2 separate regions of the Homo sapiens genome follow, and region 1 is linked to region 2. The links are contacts of gene promoters, found by promoter capture Hi-C in human tissues and cell types (Jung and others, 2019). All regions are on one chromosome and are shown on one strand. Each heading gives the region's core, a stretch centred on a gene start or on the middle of the fragment in contact. The rest is flanking DNA. Distances are from core to core; before and after follow the strand shown. Region 1 overlaps JAKMIP1-DT (JAKMIP1 divergent transcript). Region 2 holds the start of LYAR (Ly1 antibody reactive).

What was found. Contacts are between HindIII fragments. The study calls those that stand out against the background at their distance.
Region 1: a fragment that was not itself captured here is called in contact with the fragment with the promoter of LYAR in region 2 in 1 of the 25 tissues and cell types used here (dorsolateral prefrontal cortex).

What each region holds. Positions count from the first base shown.
Region 1 is chr4:6,209,757-6,214,468 of GRCh38, forward strand. The region is part of intron 1 of JAKMIP1-DT (JAKMIP1 divergent transcript); the gene reads left to right. Among named protein-coding and RNA genes, the nearest start is that of JAKMIP1-DT, 11 kb to the left of the region's middle. The HindIII fragment of the contact is 3,673 bases long and covers 186-3,858 here.
Region 2 is chr4:4,287,533-4,292,268 of GRCh38, forward strand. It overlaps LYAR (Ly1 antibody reactive), which reads right to left and starts at 2,622. Exons shown (of 10, transcript NM_017816.3): 1 at 2,504-2,622. ZBTB49 (zinc finger and BTB domain containing 49) reads left to right here and starts at 2,719. Exons shown (of 8, transcript NM_145291.4): 1 at 2,719-2,820. RefSeq lists enhancers at 571-1,109, 1,110-1,647. The HindIII fragment of the contact is 5,433 bases long and covers 75-4,736 here.

The DNA of each region.
Region 1 (4,712 bases), core at 772-3,271, 1.9 Mb after region 2:
CATTGTACTCCAGCCTGAGTGACAGAGCAAGACTCTGTCTCAAAACAAACAAACAAACAAACAAACAAAAAAACAGTGTGGATCAGCCGTGAGGGCTGTGAGGCAGGCTGAGTCTCCAAGTTCTCCATCACAGACCAGCACAGGGAGAGTCTGGCCAGCGACAGGGTCCCTAGGCCTGGGCATTCTTCTTTCTTTTCTACCTTTCAATGAAAACAGCTTTCTGTGGGCTCTTTCTGTTTCCATGAATAATACATGTCATTGTAAAGAATTCAAACAGTACAGGCAGATATAAAGAAGAAACCAAAGGTCACCTTGAATCTTGCTAGCCAAGGGTAATCCCGCGAACACTCAGGTGACCCTCCCTTCGTGCTTCTGCTCATGAGCAGATACATGTGTGTAATTTTCCAGGAATGCGCTTATTTTATGCATGATGTTTTTATTATGGATACTTCCTCCTCCCCCTCCCATATCATATCCCCCACCAAATAGCTCATGTTAACAACCTAGCTTGTTTTATTTCACATTTTTTATATTTTTCTCCATAAGAATAAATAACTACATTCATATATACATACATACATATGGGGGGTTGGGGGTCATTGTTTTACAAAACGAATTCATGATAATCACATTTTCTGCTTCTCACTTTTCACACTCATCAACACCTCGTGCAAATTCCTGCCAGCATCTGGGGAAATCTCTAGACTGACAGGCTGAGGCCATCCCACAGTTCACAGAGCCTTTTCCTATGGGTTAATGTCCCTTTGTCATTACCAACCGACAGCCATGGGCGCTAAATATTCTTACACAAACCCTCAGATAGCAGGACTACTTTTATTTCTATGGGATGGATTCCCAGGAGTGGAATGGCTGGTTGGAAGGTCTAAACTTTTGTCTGTCTGTTTGTTTGTTTTTTGTTTGTTTGAGACAGAGTCTTGCTCTGTCACCCAGGCTGGAGTGCAATCTCAGCTCACTGCAACCTCCGCCTCGCAGGTTCAGGCGATTCTCATGCCTCGGCCTCCTAAGTACCTGGGATTACAAGCACACACCACCACCCCCAGCTAACTTTTCTATTTTTAGTAGAGATAGGGTTTCGCCATGTTAGCCAGGCTGATCTTGAACTCCTGACCTCAAGTGACCCACCCACCTTGGCCTCCCAAAGTGCTGGGATTACAGGTGTGAGCCACCGTGCCTGGCCAAAAAGGTCTAACCTTTTTAATTTACATTTTTAAATTAGCAAATAATAATTGTCCATATTCAGGAGGTACATAGTGATTTTGTGATACATATAATGTGCAGTGATCAGATCATGGCAATTAGCATAGCCATCATCTCAGATGTTTATCATTTCTTTGTGTTGGGACCATTCAAAATCCTCCTTTTTGAAAAAAATAAAATAAAAATAGGGGCCAGGTGTGGTGGCTCATGCCTGTAATCCCAGCACTTTGGGAGGTCAAGGCAGGTGGATCACCTGAGGTCAGGAGTTCGAGACCAGCCTGGCCAATATGGTGAAACCCAGTCTCTACTAAAAATACAAAAAAAAAAAAAAAAAAAATTAGCCAGGCGTGGTGGCGGGTGCCTATAATCCCAGCTACTTGGGAGACTGAGGCAGGAGAATGGCTTGAACCCGGGAGGCAGAGGTTGCAGTGAGCAAAGATCGCGCCATTACACTCCAGCCTGGGCAACAAGAGCGAAACTTCGTCTCAAAAAAAAAAAAAAAAATAGGCAGATTACCTTCCCAAGACTCTAACACACACCCTTCTGCTTCAATGTATTTCCTGCATTGCCAACCTCAACCCACGCTGCAGCATGTGTAAATGTTGTCACTCTGATGGGTGCAAAGTGATGTGTCCTTGTTATTTTAATTTGCGTTTCTCTGTCCATTGGTGGATTTGAGCACCTGGTTTTATATATATTTATATATATATATATATATATATATATATATATATATATATATATATACACACACACACACACACACACATTATGTATATATTGCATATATATACACACACACACACACACACATATATATATGATTTGCTCTTTTAGATTTGATTTGCACTTTTGAGGTTTGTCTATTCTCTATCCCTTGCCCACTTTTAGTAGGGACATTTTGTCTTGTGCGCTGTTACGGCTCTCAGCATAACAATGACCCCTTTGCCTGTCGCCAACGTTCAAGCACTTTTTCCAGATCCAGCATTCATCTTTTGACTTCATGGCATCTTTTACCACACAACGACAAACTTTTTACATAGTTAAATATGTGTCTCGCTTTTTAAAAATAGCTTCTGAGTTTTATTCTTGGTAGAAAGTCTCCAGGACACATAGACTCATTATGCAGCTTCCAAGATTTTCTTGAGAGTACAAGAAAACTTAGTTCCTTCGGGCAGTTATTATACAGTGCTTATTTGCAGTACAAAAAAATTTAAAAGTGGTTTGGCTGGCAAATATGACCTTATAAAATACCTTTAAGTAAAGAAGTTTTCTATTATTTTAAAAATGTTTTTAGTGTGAAATGTTGTAAGAATGCCAAATATCATATATATAACACATATATGTTCTCTAAAGCACAATAAGAGGATTTCATTTGCATCCATATACTGCCTCTAAGGAAAGGCACGTGTACACACACACACAAACACACACACACACACACACACACACACACACACAAAAGGCAGTGGAATTATACCATGTGCAAGTGGTGCTGGAATGACCCAAGAAAGCTTTGAATGATCATAGTCACGTCTATATTCACCGCCCCTCCAGATAGTGAGAAGTTCTGATTATCCCTTTTGAGAATAGGGGCGGGTCAGAGAACAGGATCCAATCACTAATTGTTGAATTGTGATGTCTGTGCTATCTGGGACATGACTTCAAGTCTTTACTATATTCAAAGAAGAGAAAATAATAAACAAGCATAGATGGACCCACCATTCAACTTAACACATAGAGTATTAGCCATATCCCACACATCTCTCCCCATTTGGTAACCATTATCTTCAAGCATGTGTTTATCTTTTCCCAGTTTCATATACATGGTATATACATCTTCTTCCACATTTTACTTTTTAATTAATATCAAGTTTTAAAATCAATTTTGATATCTGCGGCTGAACTGGGAATGGACATCAGTTTTATTCATTTTACACCGTGCCACTATGGACCCCCTCCATTCTTATCTTCTGATGCACATGCATAAGATATTTCTAGAGCAGAGATATTCAACTGCAAAACTATCGACCTTTGGGCAGGATAATTTATAAAGGGGGGCTGTCCTGTGCATTGTACAATGCATAGCAGTATCCCTGGCCTCTACTTAAGAGATGCCAATTGCATCCTTCCCTCAAAATGTGACAACAAAAAGTGTCTCCAGCCATTGCCTTCCAGAGGGCAAAGTCACCCCTGATTGAGAAACATTATTCTGGAGTATATGTTATAGAGATGGAATTGCTAAGTCATGGGCATGAACATCTTCAACTTTACAAGATACTACATTTTCTAAAATGTTTATGCCAATTTATTATCCAACTACTAAGGACTGAGTTTTTGTGTCCCCCTAAACTTCATATGTGGAATCTCTAATCCTTAATCTGATGGTATCCGGAGATGGAGTCTTTGGGAGATAATTAGGTCATGCGGATGGAGTCCTCACAAATGGGATTAGTGCCCTTATAAGAAGAGACAGGAGAGAGATGATCCCTCTCTTTATCATGTGGAGGATACAGCCAGAAGGCGGCCATCTACAAGCCAAAACAAGGGCCCTCACCAGAACCTGACCATGCTAACGCTCCGATCTTGGACTTCACCCTCCAGAACTGTTAGAAGTGAATTTTTGTTGTTCAATCCACCCAATTAAAGGCATCAGCCAACAATCTATAAGAAACCAGTTATTTCACGTATTTGCCAACGTATAGTATTGGCTGAATGTTAAATTTTTGCCAACCTGGTGACTGTAAGGTAGGCACATGTTTTGCATTTGTTCTTTTTTTTTTTTTTTTTTTTTTTTTTTGAGACAGTTTTGCTCTTGTTGCCCAGGCTGGAGTGCAATGACATGATCTCGGCTCACTGCAACCTCCGCCTCCCGGGTTCAAGTGATTCTTCTGCCTCAGCCTCCCACGTAGCTGGGATTACAGGTGCCCACCACCACGCCCAGATAATTTTTGTATTTTTAGTGGAGACAGGGTTTCACCATGTTGGCCAGGCTGGTCTCGAACTCCTGACCTCAGGTGATCTACCCGCCGCAGCCTCCCAAAGTTCTGAGATTACAGGCGTGAGCCACTGTGCCTGGCCCCTTGCACATATATTCTTTTAAGGGCTTGTCATTTCATATTATTATAGTTTCCTTTGGGTGTATAGAAATGTTCACTTTAATATAGTAGGGCCAGTCACAGTGGCTCACACCTGTAATCCCAGCACTTTGGAAGGCTGAGGCAGGCAGATCAGTTGAGGACAGGGGTTTGAGACCAGCCTGGGAAACATAATGAGACCCCATTTCTATAAAAAATAAAATAAAAAAGGTAGCCAGGTGTGGTGGTGCATGCCTGTAGTCCCAGCTACCTGGGAGGCTGAGGCTGGAGGATCACTTGTGCCCAGGAGTTCAAGGCTGCAATGAGTTATGGTCACCCCAGTGCACTCTAGCCTTGGCAACAGAGTGAGACTTTGTCTCTAAAATAATAATGATAATAATATAGTCAATATTTTCC
Region 2 (4,736 bases), core at 1,372-3,871:
GTCCCATTTATGAACACAACTGCCCCCAATACCACTAAGACTGCTATGATCATACTACCTCCATCTGGAGAGAAAACCTAAGGCTCAGGAGGGTAAGTGAACTGCCCGAAGTCACAGTAAGTGGCAGAGGTGGCCTGAAAGACCAGGCAGCAAGCCCAGGCTCCCACCCTGCCTCCATCTTGACCTGCCATGTCCTAGCCGTTTGCTTGGTGGTTACTCAGCACCTGGGACCTTGAGGTCCTCATCCAAAGAGAAAAAAAATTAAGGTCTCTATAAGATGACTTTCCATGTATAAATATTAGAACCCTAAGTCTTAATTATAAAACCTCTGTGCAGTGGGCAAGGAGACCACCCATGTCACAGGAGAGGCTGTCAGGGTCTGGACAGCAAAGCTAGCTGAGGGGCAGCAGCCAGTGGTCACTAAGGGGCTGGGAACTTGTTAGTCTTCTCTTAACAAGATGGTTGCCAGCTTTTGTTGGACAGGGCCCTGACTCAGGTGTAGAGGATCTGAGCTGGAGCCTACATCTGCTAATGTCAAAAAAGTCATTAAAAACTAAATGACCTCAAAGCACCTTAACTTCCCAGAATCTGTTTATCTGTAAAATGGATCTAATACCTAACTCAAAGCATTGGGTGGAAAGTTAAATAAGACACCAGATATGAAAGCTTCATCCCTGCCCAATTGTAGAAAGGTTTCTCTGTGACCTACTAATTTGCACATCAATGCTATTATACCCAGCCCCCTCCTAAACCCATGCTCCTTTAAATATGACCATCAACCCACCCATTTATGTTCATAAATTCACTCCAACCTTCTCTGGCTCCTCACCCCATGGCTGCCTACTTTACCAAGTTCCCTGATAACATGCCCTTAGGTTTGGTTCTGAGATTGGAATGATTTTTTTTAAATCTTCTTCCCTCTATATTTTTGTATTACTTATTCAATTTTTTTTCTTTTTTTTTTTTTTTTTGAGACGGAGTCTCATTCTGTTGCCCAGGCTGGAGTACAATGGCGCAATCTCGGCTCACTGCAGCCTTTGCCTCCCAGGTTCAAGTGATTCTCCGGCCTCAGCCTCCCCAGTAGCTGGGATTACAGGCACATGCCACCATGCCCGGCTAATTTTTGTATTTTTAGTAGAGACGGAGTTTCACCATGTTGGCCAGGCTGGTTGTGAACTCTTGACCTCAGGTGATCCACCCTCCTCGGCCTCCCAAAGTGCTCGGATGACAGGCACGGGCCACTGCGCTTGGCCTTGACTATTCTTAAAATATTCTTGCATGCACATGCAGACACTGACCTACACATCATTACCACCACTACCACTCAAACAGCCCACCTGAGGGGCCTAGCTGGCAACCCCAGGATATCCCCCACTGAACACTGTGACCCTGAGCATGCCACTGCCTCTATAAACTTCAAGTTATCTCATCTGTGAAACAAGAAGTCAGGCCAACTTGACAAGACTCAAGCCCCTTCCACGGGTAGCATTCTGAGAAACCATGGGTATGGTGCAAGAGAAGGACAGACAAACATACTCTGTCCACCATCCTGCCTAAACCTTTGTGTATGAGGCTGACAAGGGTTACAATGGGTGACATTCACAAGGAGAGAATCTCTCCCTTGTTCCTTGCAAAAGCCCTGGGAAGTAGGTGCACCTATCTCCACTAAACAGATGAGCAAACTGAGGCACAGAAGCCATTTCTCTCTGCCTCCTACCCCACCCACGGCATCACCAGCACTGTTTTAAACACCATCCCTTCACTCGAGTAACTACCATGTGTCAGGCACTATGCTAGACCCTGGGAGCCTCGGGCACAGTGTGAGTAAGTCCCAAGTGGGCCCTCTCTGCTAGAAATCAGGGTTGCAAATACAGACCCCACCTCATCCTCCTCCCTCTCTCCTCAGAGGTAGGTGCTTCAGAGAATCCTAACATTCATGGAGCACCCAAGCCCTCTCATAGGAGGTTAACACATTTCTACTCATGTAATCCTCATCACAGTTCTCCGAGTTAGATTCTATATGTTATGACAGATGAGGAAAGTGAGGCGCAAAGAGGTTAAAAAACTTACACCAGGTCATCCCACATCCAGGTAGTGGCAACCCAGATTCACACGCAGTAGTTATTCTGATCCTAAGTATGTGCTCTGGACCGCTACATCCTAAGGCCTCCTCTTTAGGGACTGATCTCCCAAGGCTCAGAGAAGAGCCCTGTCTCCAACATGCAGCAAGCCTGAAGCCCAGTCGGGCGGTGACCAATCGTCCTGGTTTGGCCAGGCCCGAGGGAGTTCCCAGGACGCCGGACCTTAAGTTTTAAAACTAAAACGAGTTGGTCACCCTAAGTCCAGGACTCCTGCCACTTCCCCAGAGCAGGAGTGAGATCTGAATGGAACTCCTTCCTCCATGCGTAACCCAGAGGGGCTGACGGTGGAAATCCCGTCCCTCCCCTACTCACTCTCTGAGCCCCAGCCTCCCAGGTCGGACCTCTGGGCCACCACCCCTCACCTCTCAGCCAGCGCCCGCCAACGGTTTCAACCGGCCGCGGGGAGCACGTGGACTCGCCGCCGCCAGCCCAGCGCCGCAGCTACCTGCCTCTCAGGCTTCGCGGTGCAGAATTCGCTTCTGAACCACCCAGCGCGCCTGCGCACCGCGGCCACGCCCCCCCCAGTGGAAGTGACGCCAACGGAAGCAGGAAGGCGGTTCCGGCAAGCCAAGGGGGCGTTGTCGTGATGATTCCGCGGCCAGCGGATCGCTGCGAGTGGCCTTGAAGGCAGCTGCTGCAGGTGAAGAGTAGGCGGCGGGGCAGAGAGCGGCCTCCGAGGGTAAGGTGGCCGGCCTTGCGAAGGCGTGCGGGGCTGGCGCTGGTGGGAATGGCCCGGAAGGGAAGGGAGGCCGGGCGCCCGAAGGTGGCCCAGAAGGGCATGGACCCACCGCTCCTTCCCGTCTCTGGGCACTCGAGGATACCCGGGGGGTTGGCGGCTCCTGCGAGAGTCAGCGAGCATTTGCTCTGTGCCGGGCATCACAGGGGACGCGGACTGAGACCCAGACGGCCAGGTTCCGGGCCTGGGAGCCGGGCCTTCTCCCTGGTGCAGCTTCCTCGGCCTGGAAACCCCACCCGCGCCCTCTCATCTCCAGGCTTTGCCCGCTGGAAGCCAGCCCGGCCCGCCTCCGCTACGCGCTGCCCATCTCTCGGCTTCTGTTTCCTTCCACGCTGTAGTTGAGAGTAGCGCTTAAGACGACAGAGCCCACAGCCTAGCTCAGTTTCATTACGGTGTGGCCTCTTTGTGCCTCAGCCCCGCATCTGTAAAGCGAATGTCATAGCGGCACCTGCGTCCCTGGAACCTTGTCGTATTTCATGAGTTGGTGCATGTAAATCGCTTAGACTAGTGGCTGCCACTTAGTAAGTACTCAATAAACGTTAGCTCTTCTCAGCCCTTAAAACAGGGTCTGGCACACAGTGGTGGTCACTAGGTGTTTGTTGCTTAAATGAATGAATGAAAGTTGAGTGGAGGATGCACAGAGTATTGTGAGAAACCTTCACTCCCAAGGTGTGTGTATATGGGTGATAAGGTTTCACTCTGAAAGTGAGCAGTGTTGGGCCTGGAATAGAAGGTGTATTAGTTTGCTAGGACTGCAAACAAAATACTGGGTGGCTTAAACAACAGAAATTTATTATTTTCTCACAGTTCTGGAGGTTAGAAGTCCAAGATCAAGGTGTCTTCAGGTTTGGTTTCTTCTGAGACATTTCTCCTTGGCTTGCACGTGGCTGCTTTCTTGCTGTGTCCTCGCATGGTCTTTCCTCTGTGTTTTCACATCTCTGGCGTCTCTCTTTGCATCCAGATTTCCTCTTTATGAGAACGTCAGTCAGGTTGTATTAGGGCCCACCTTAATGGCCTCATTTTAACTTAATTACCTTCTTACAAGCCTGATCTCCAAATACAATCACATTCTGGAGTGCTGGGGGAACAGTTTAACCATAACAGAAGGAATTCACAGAAATGGACAAGGAGGGAAATACTTTCCAACAGAAGTGACAGAATGGCCAGGAGGCTTAAAAGCAGGGTGCTCAAGATGTTTTTTGTGTTCAGGGCACATATGTGTACTTCAGTCTTGTTTGTGCTCTCGTACTGTTTTTGGGTTTGGTTGTTGTTGTTTGTTTGTTTGTCCTCCTGAATACTCAAAGAAAGTGAGCCCTCTCATTTTTTTAGTCTGGCAAACTTAACTCACATTTCAGCATAGATGTGTCTTCCAGGAAGTTTTCCCTGACCCTCCCTCCCAAATTAATTTCTGCTTCCTCCATTTAATAACTTTGGTACAGGGCTGGGTGCGGTGGCTCACGCCTGTAATCCCAGCGCTTTGGGAGGCCGAGGCAGGCAGCTCCTGAGGTCAAGAGATAGAGACCAGCCTGGCCAACATGGTGAAACCCTGTAAACCCCATCTCTACTAAGAGTACCAAAATTAGGCGGGTGTGGTGGCGCATGCCTGTAATCCCAGCACTTTGGGAGGCTGAGGCGAGTGGATCATTTGAGGTCAGGAGTTTGACACCAGCCTGGCCAACATGGTGAGACCCCCACCCCTCGTCCTTACTAAAAATACAAAAATTAGCTGGGTGTGGTGGTGCATGCCTGTAATCCCAGCTACTCGGGAGGCTGAGGCAGAAGAATCGCTTGAACCCAGGAGGTGGAGGTTGCACTGAGCCGAAAGCACACCACTCCACTCCAGCCTGGTCAACTGAGCA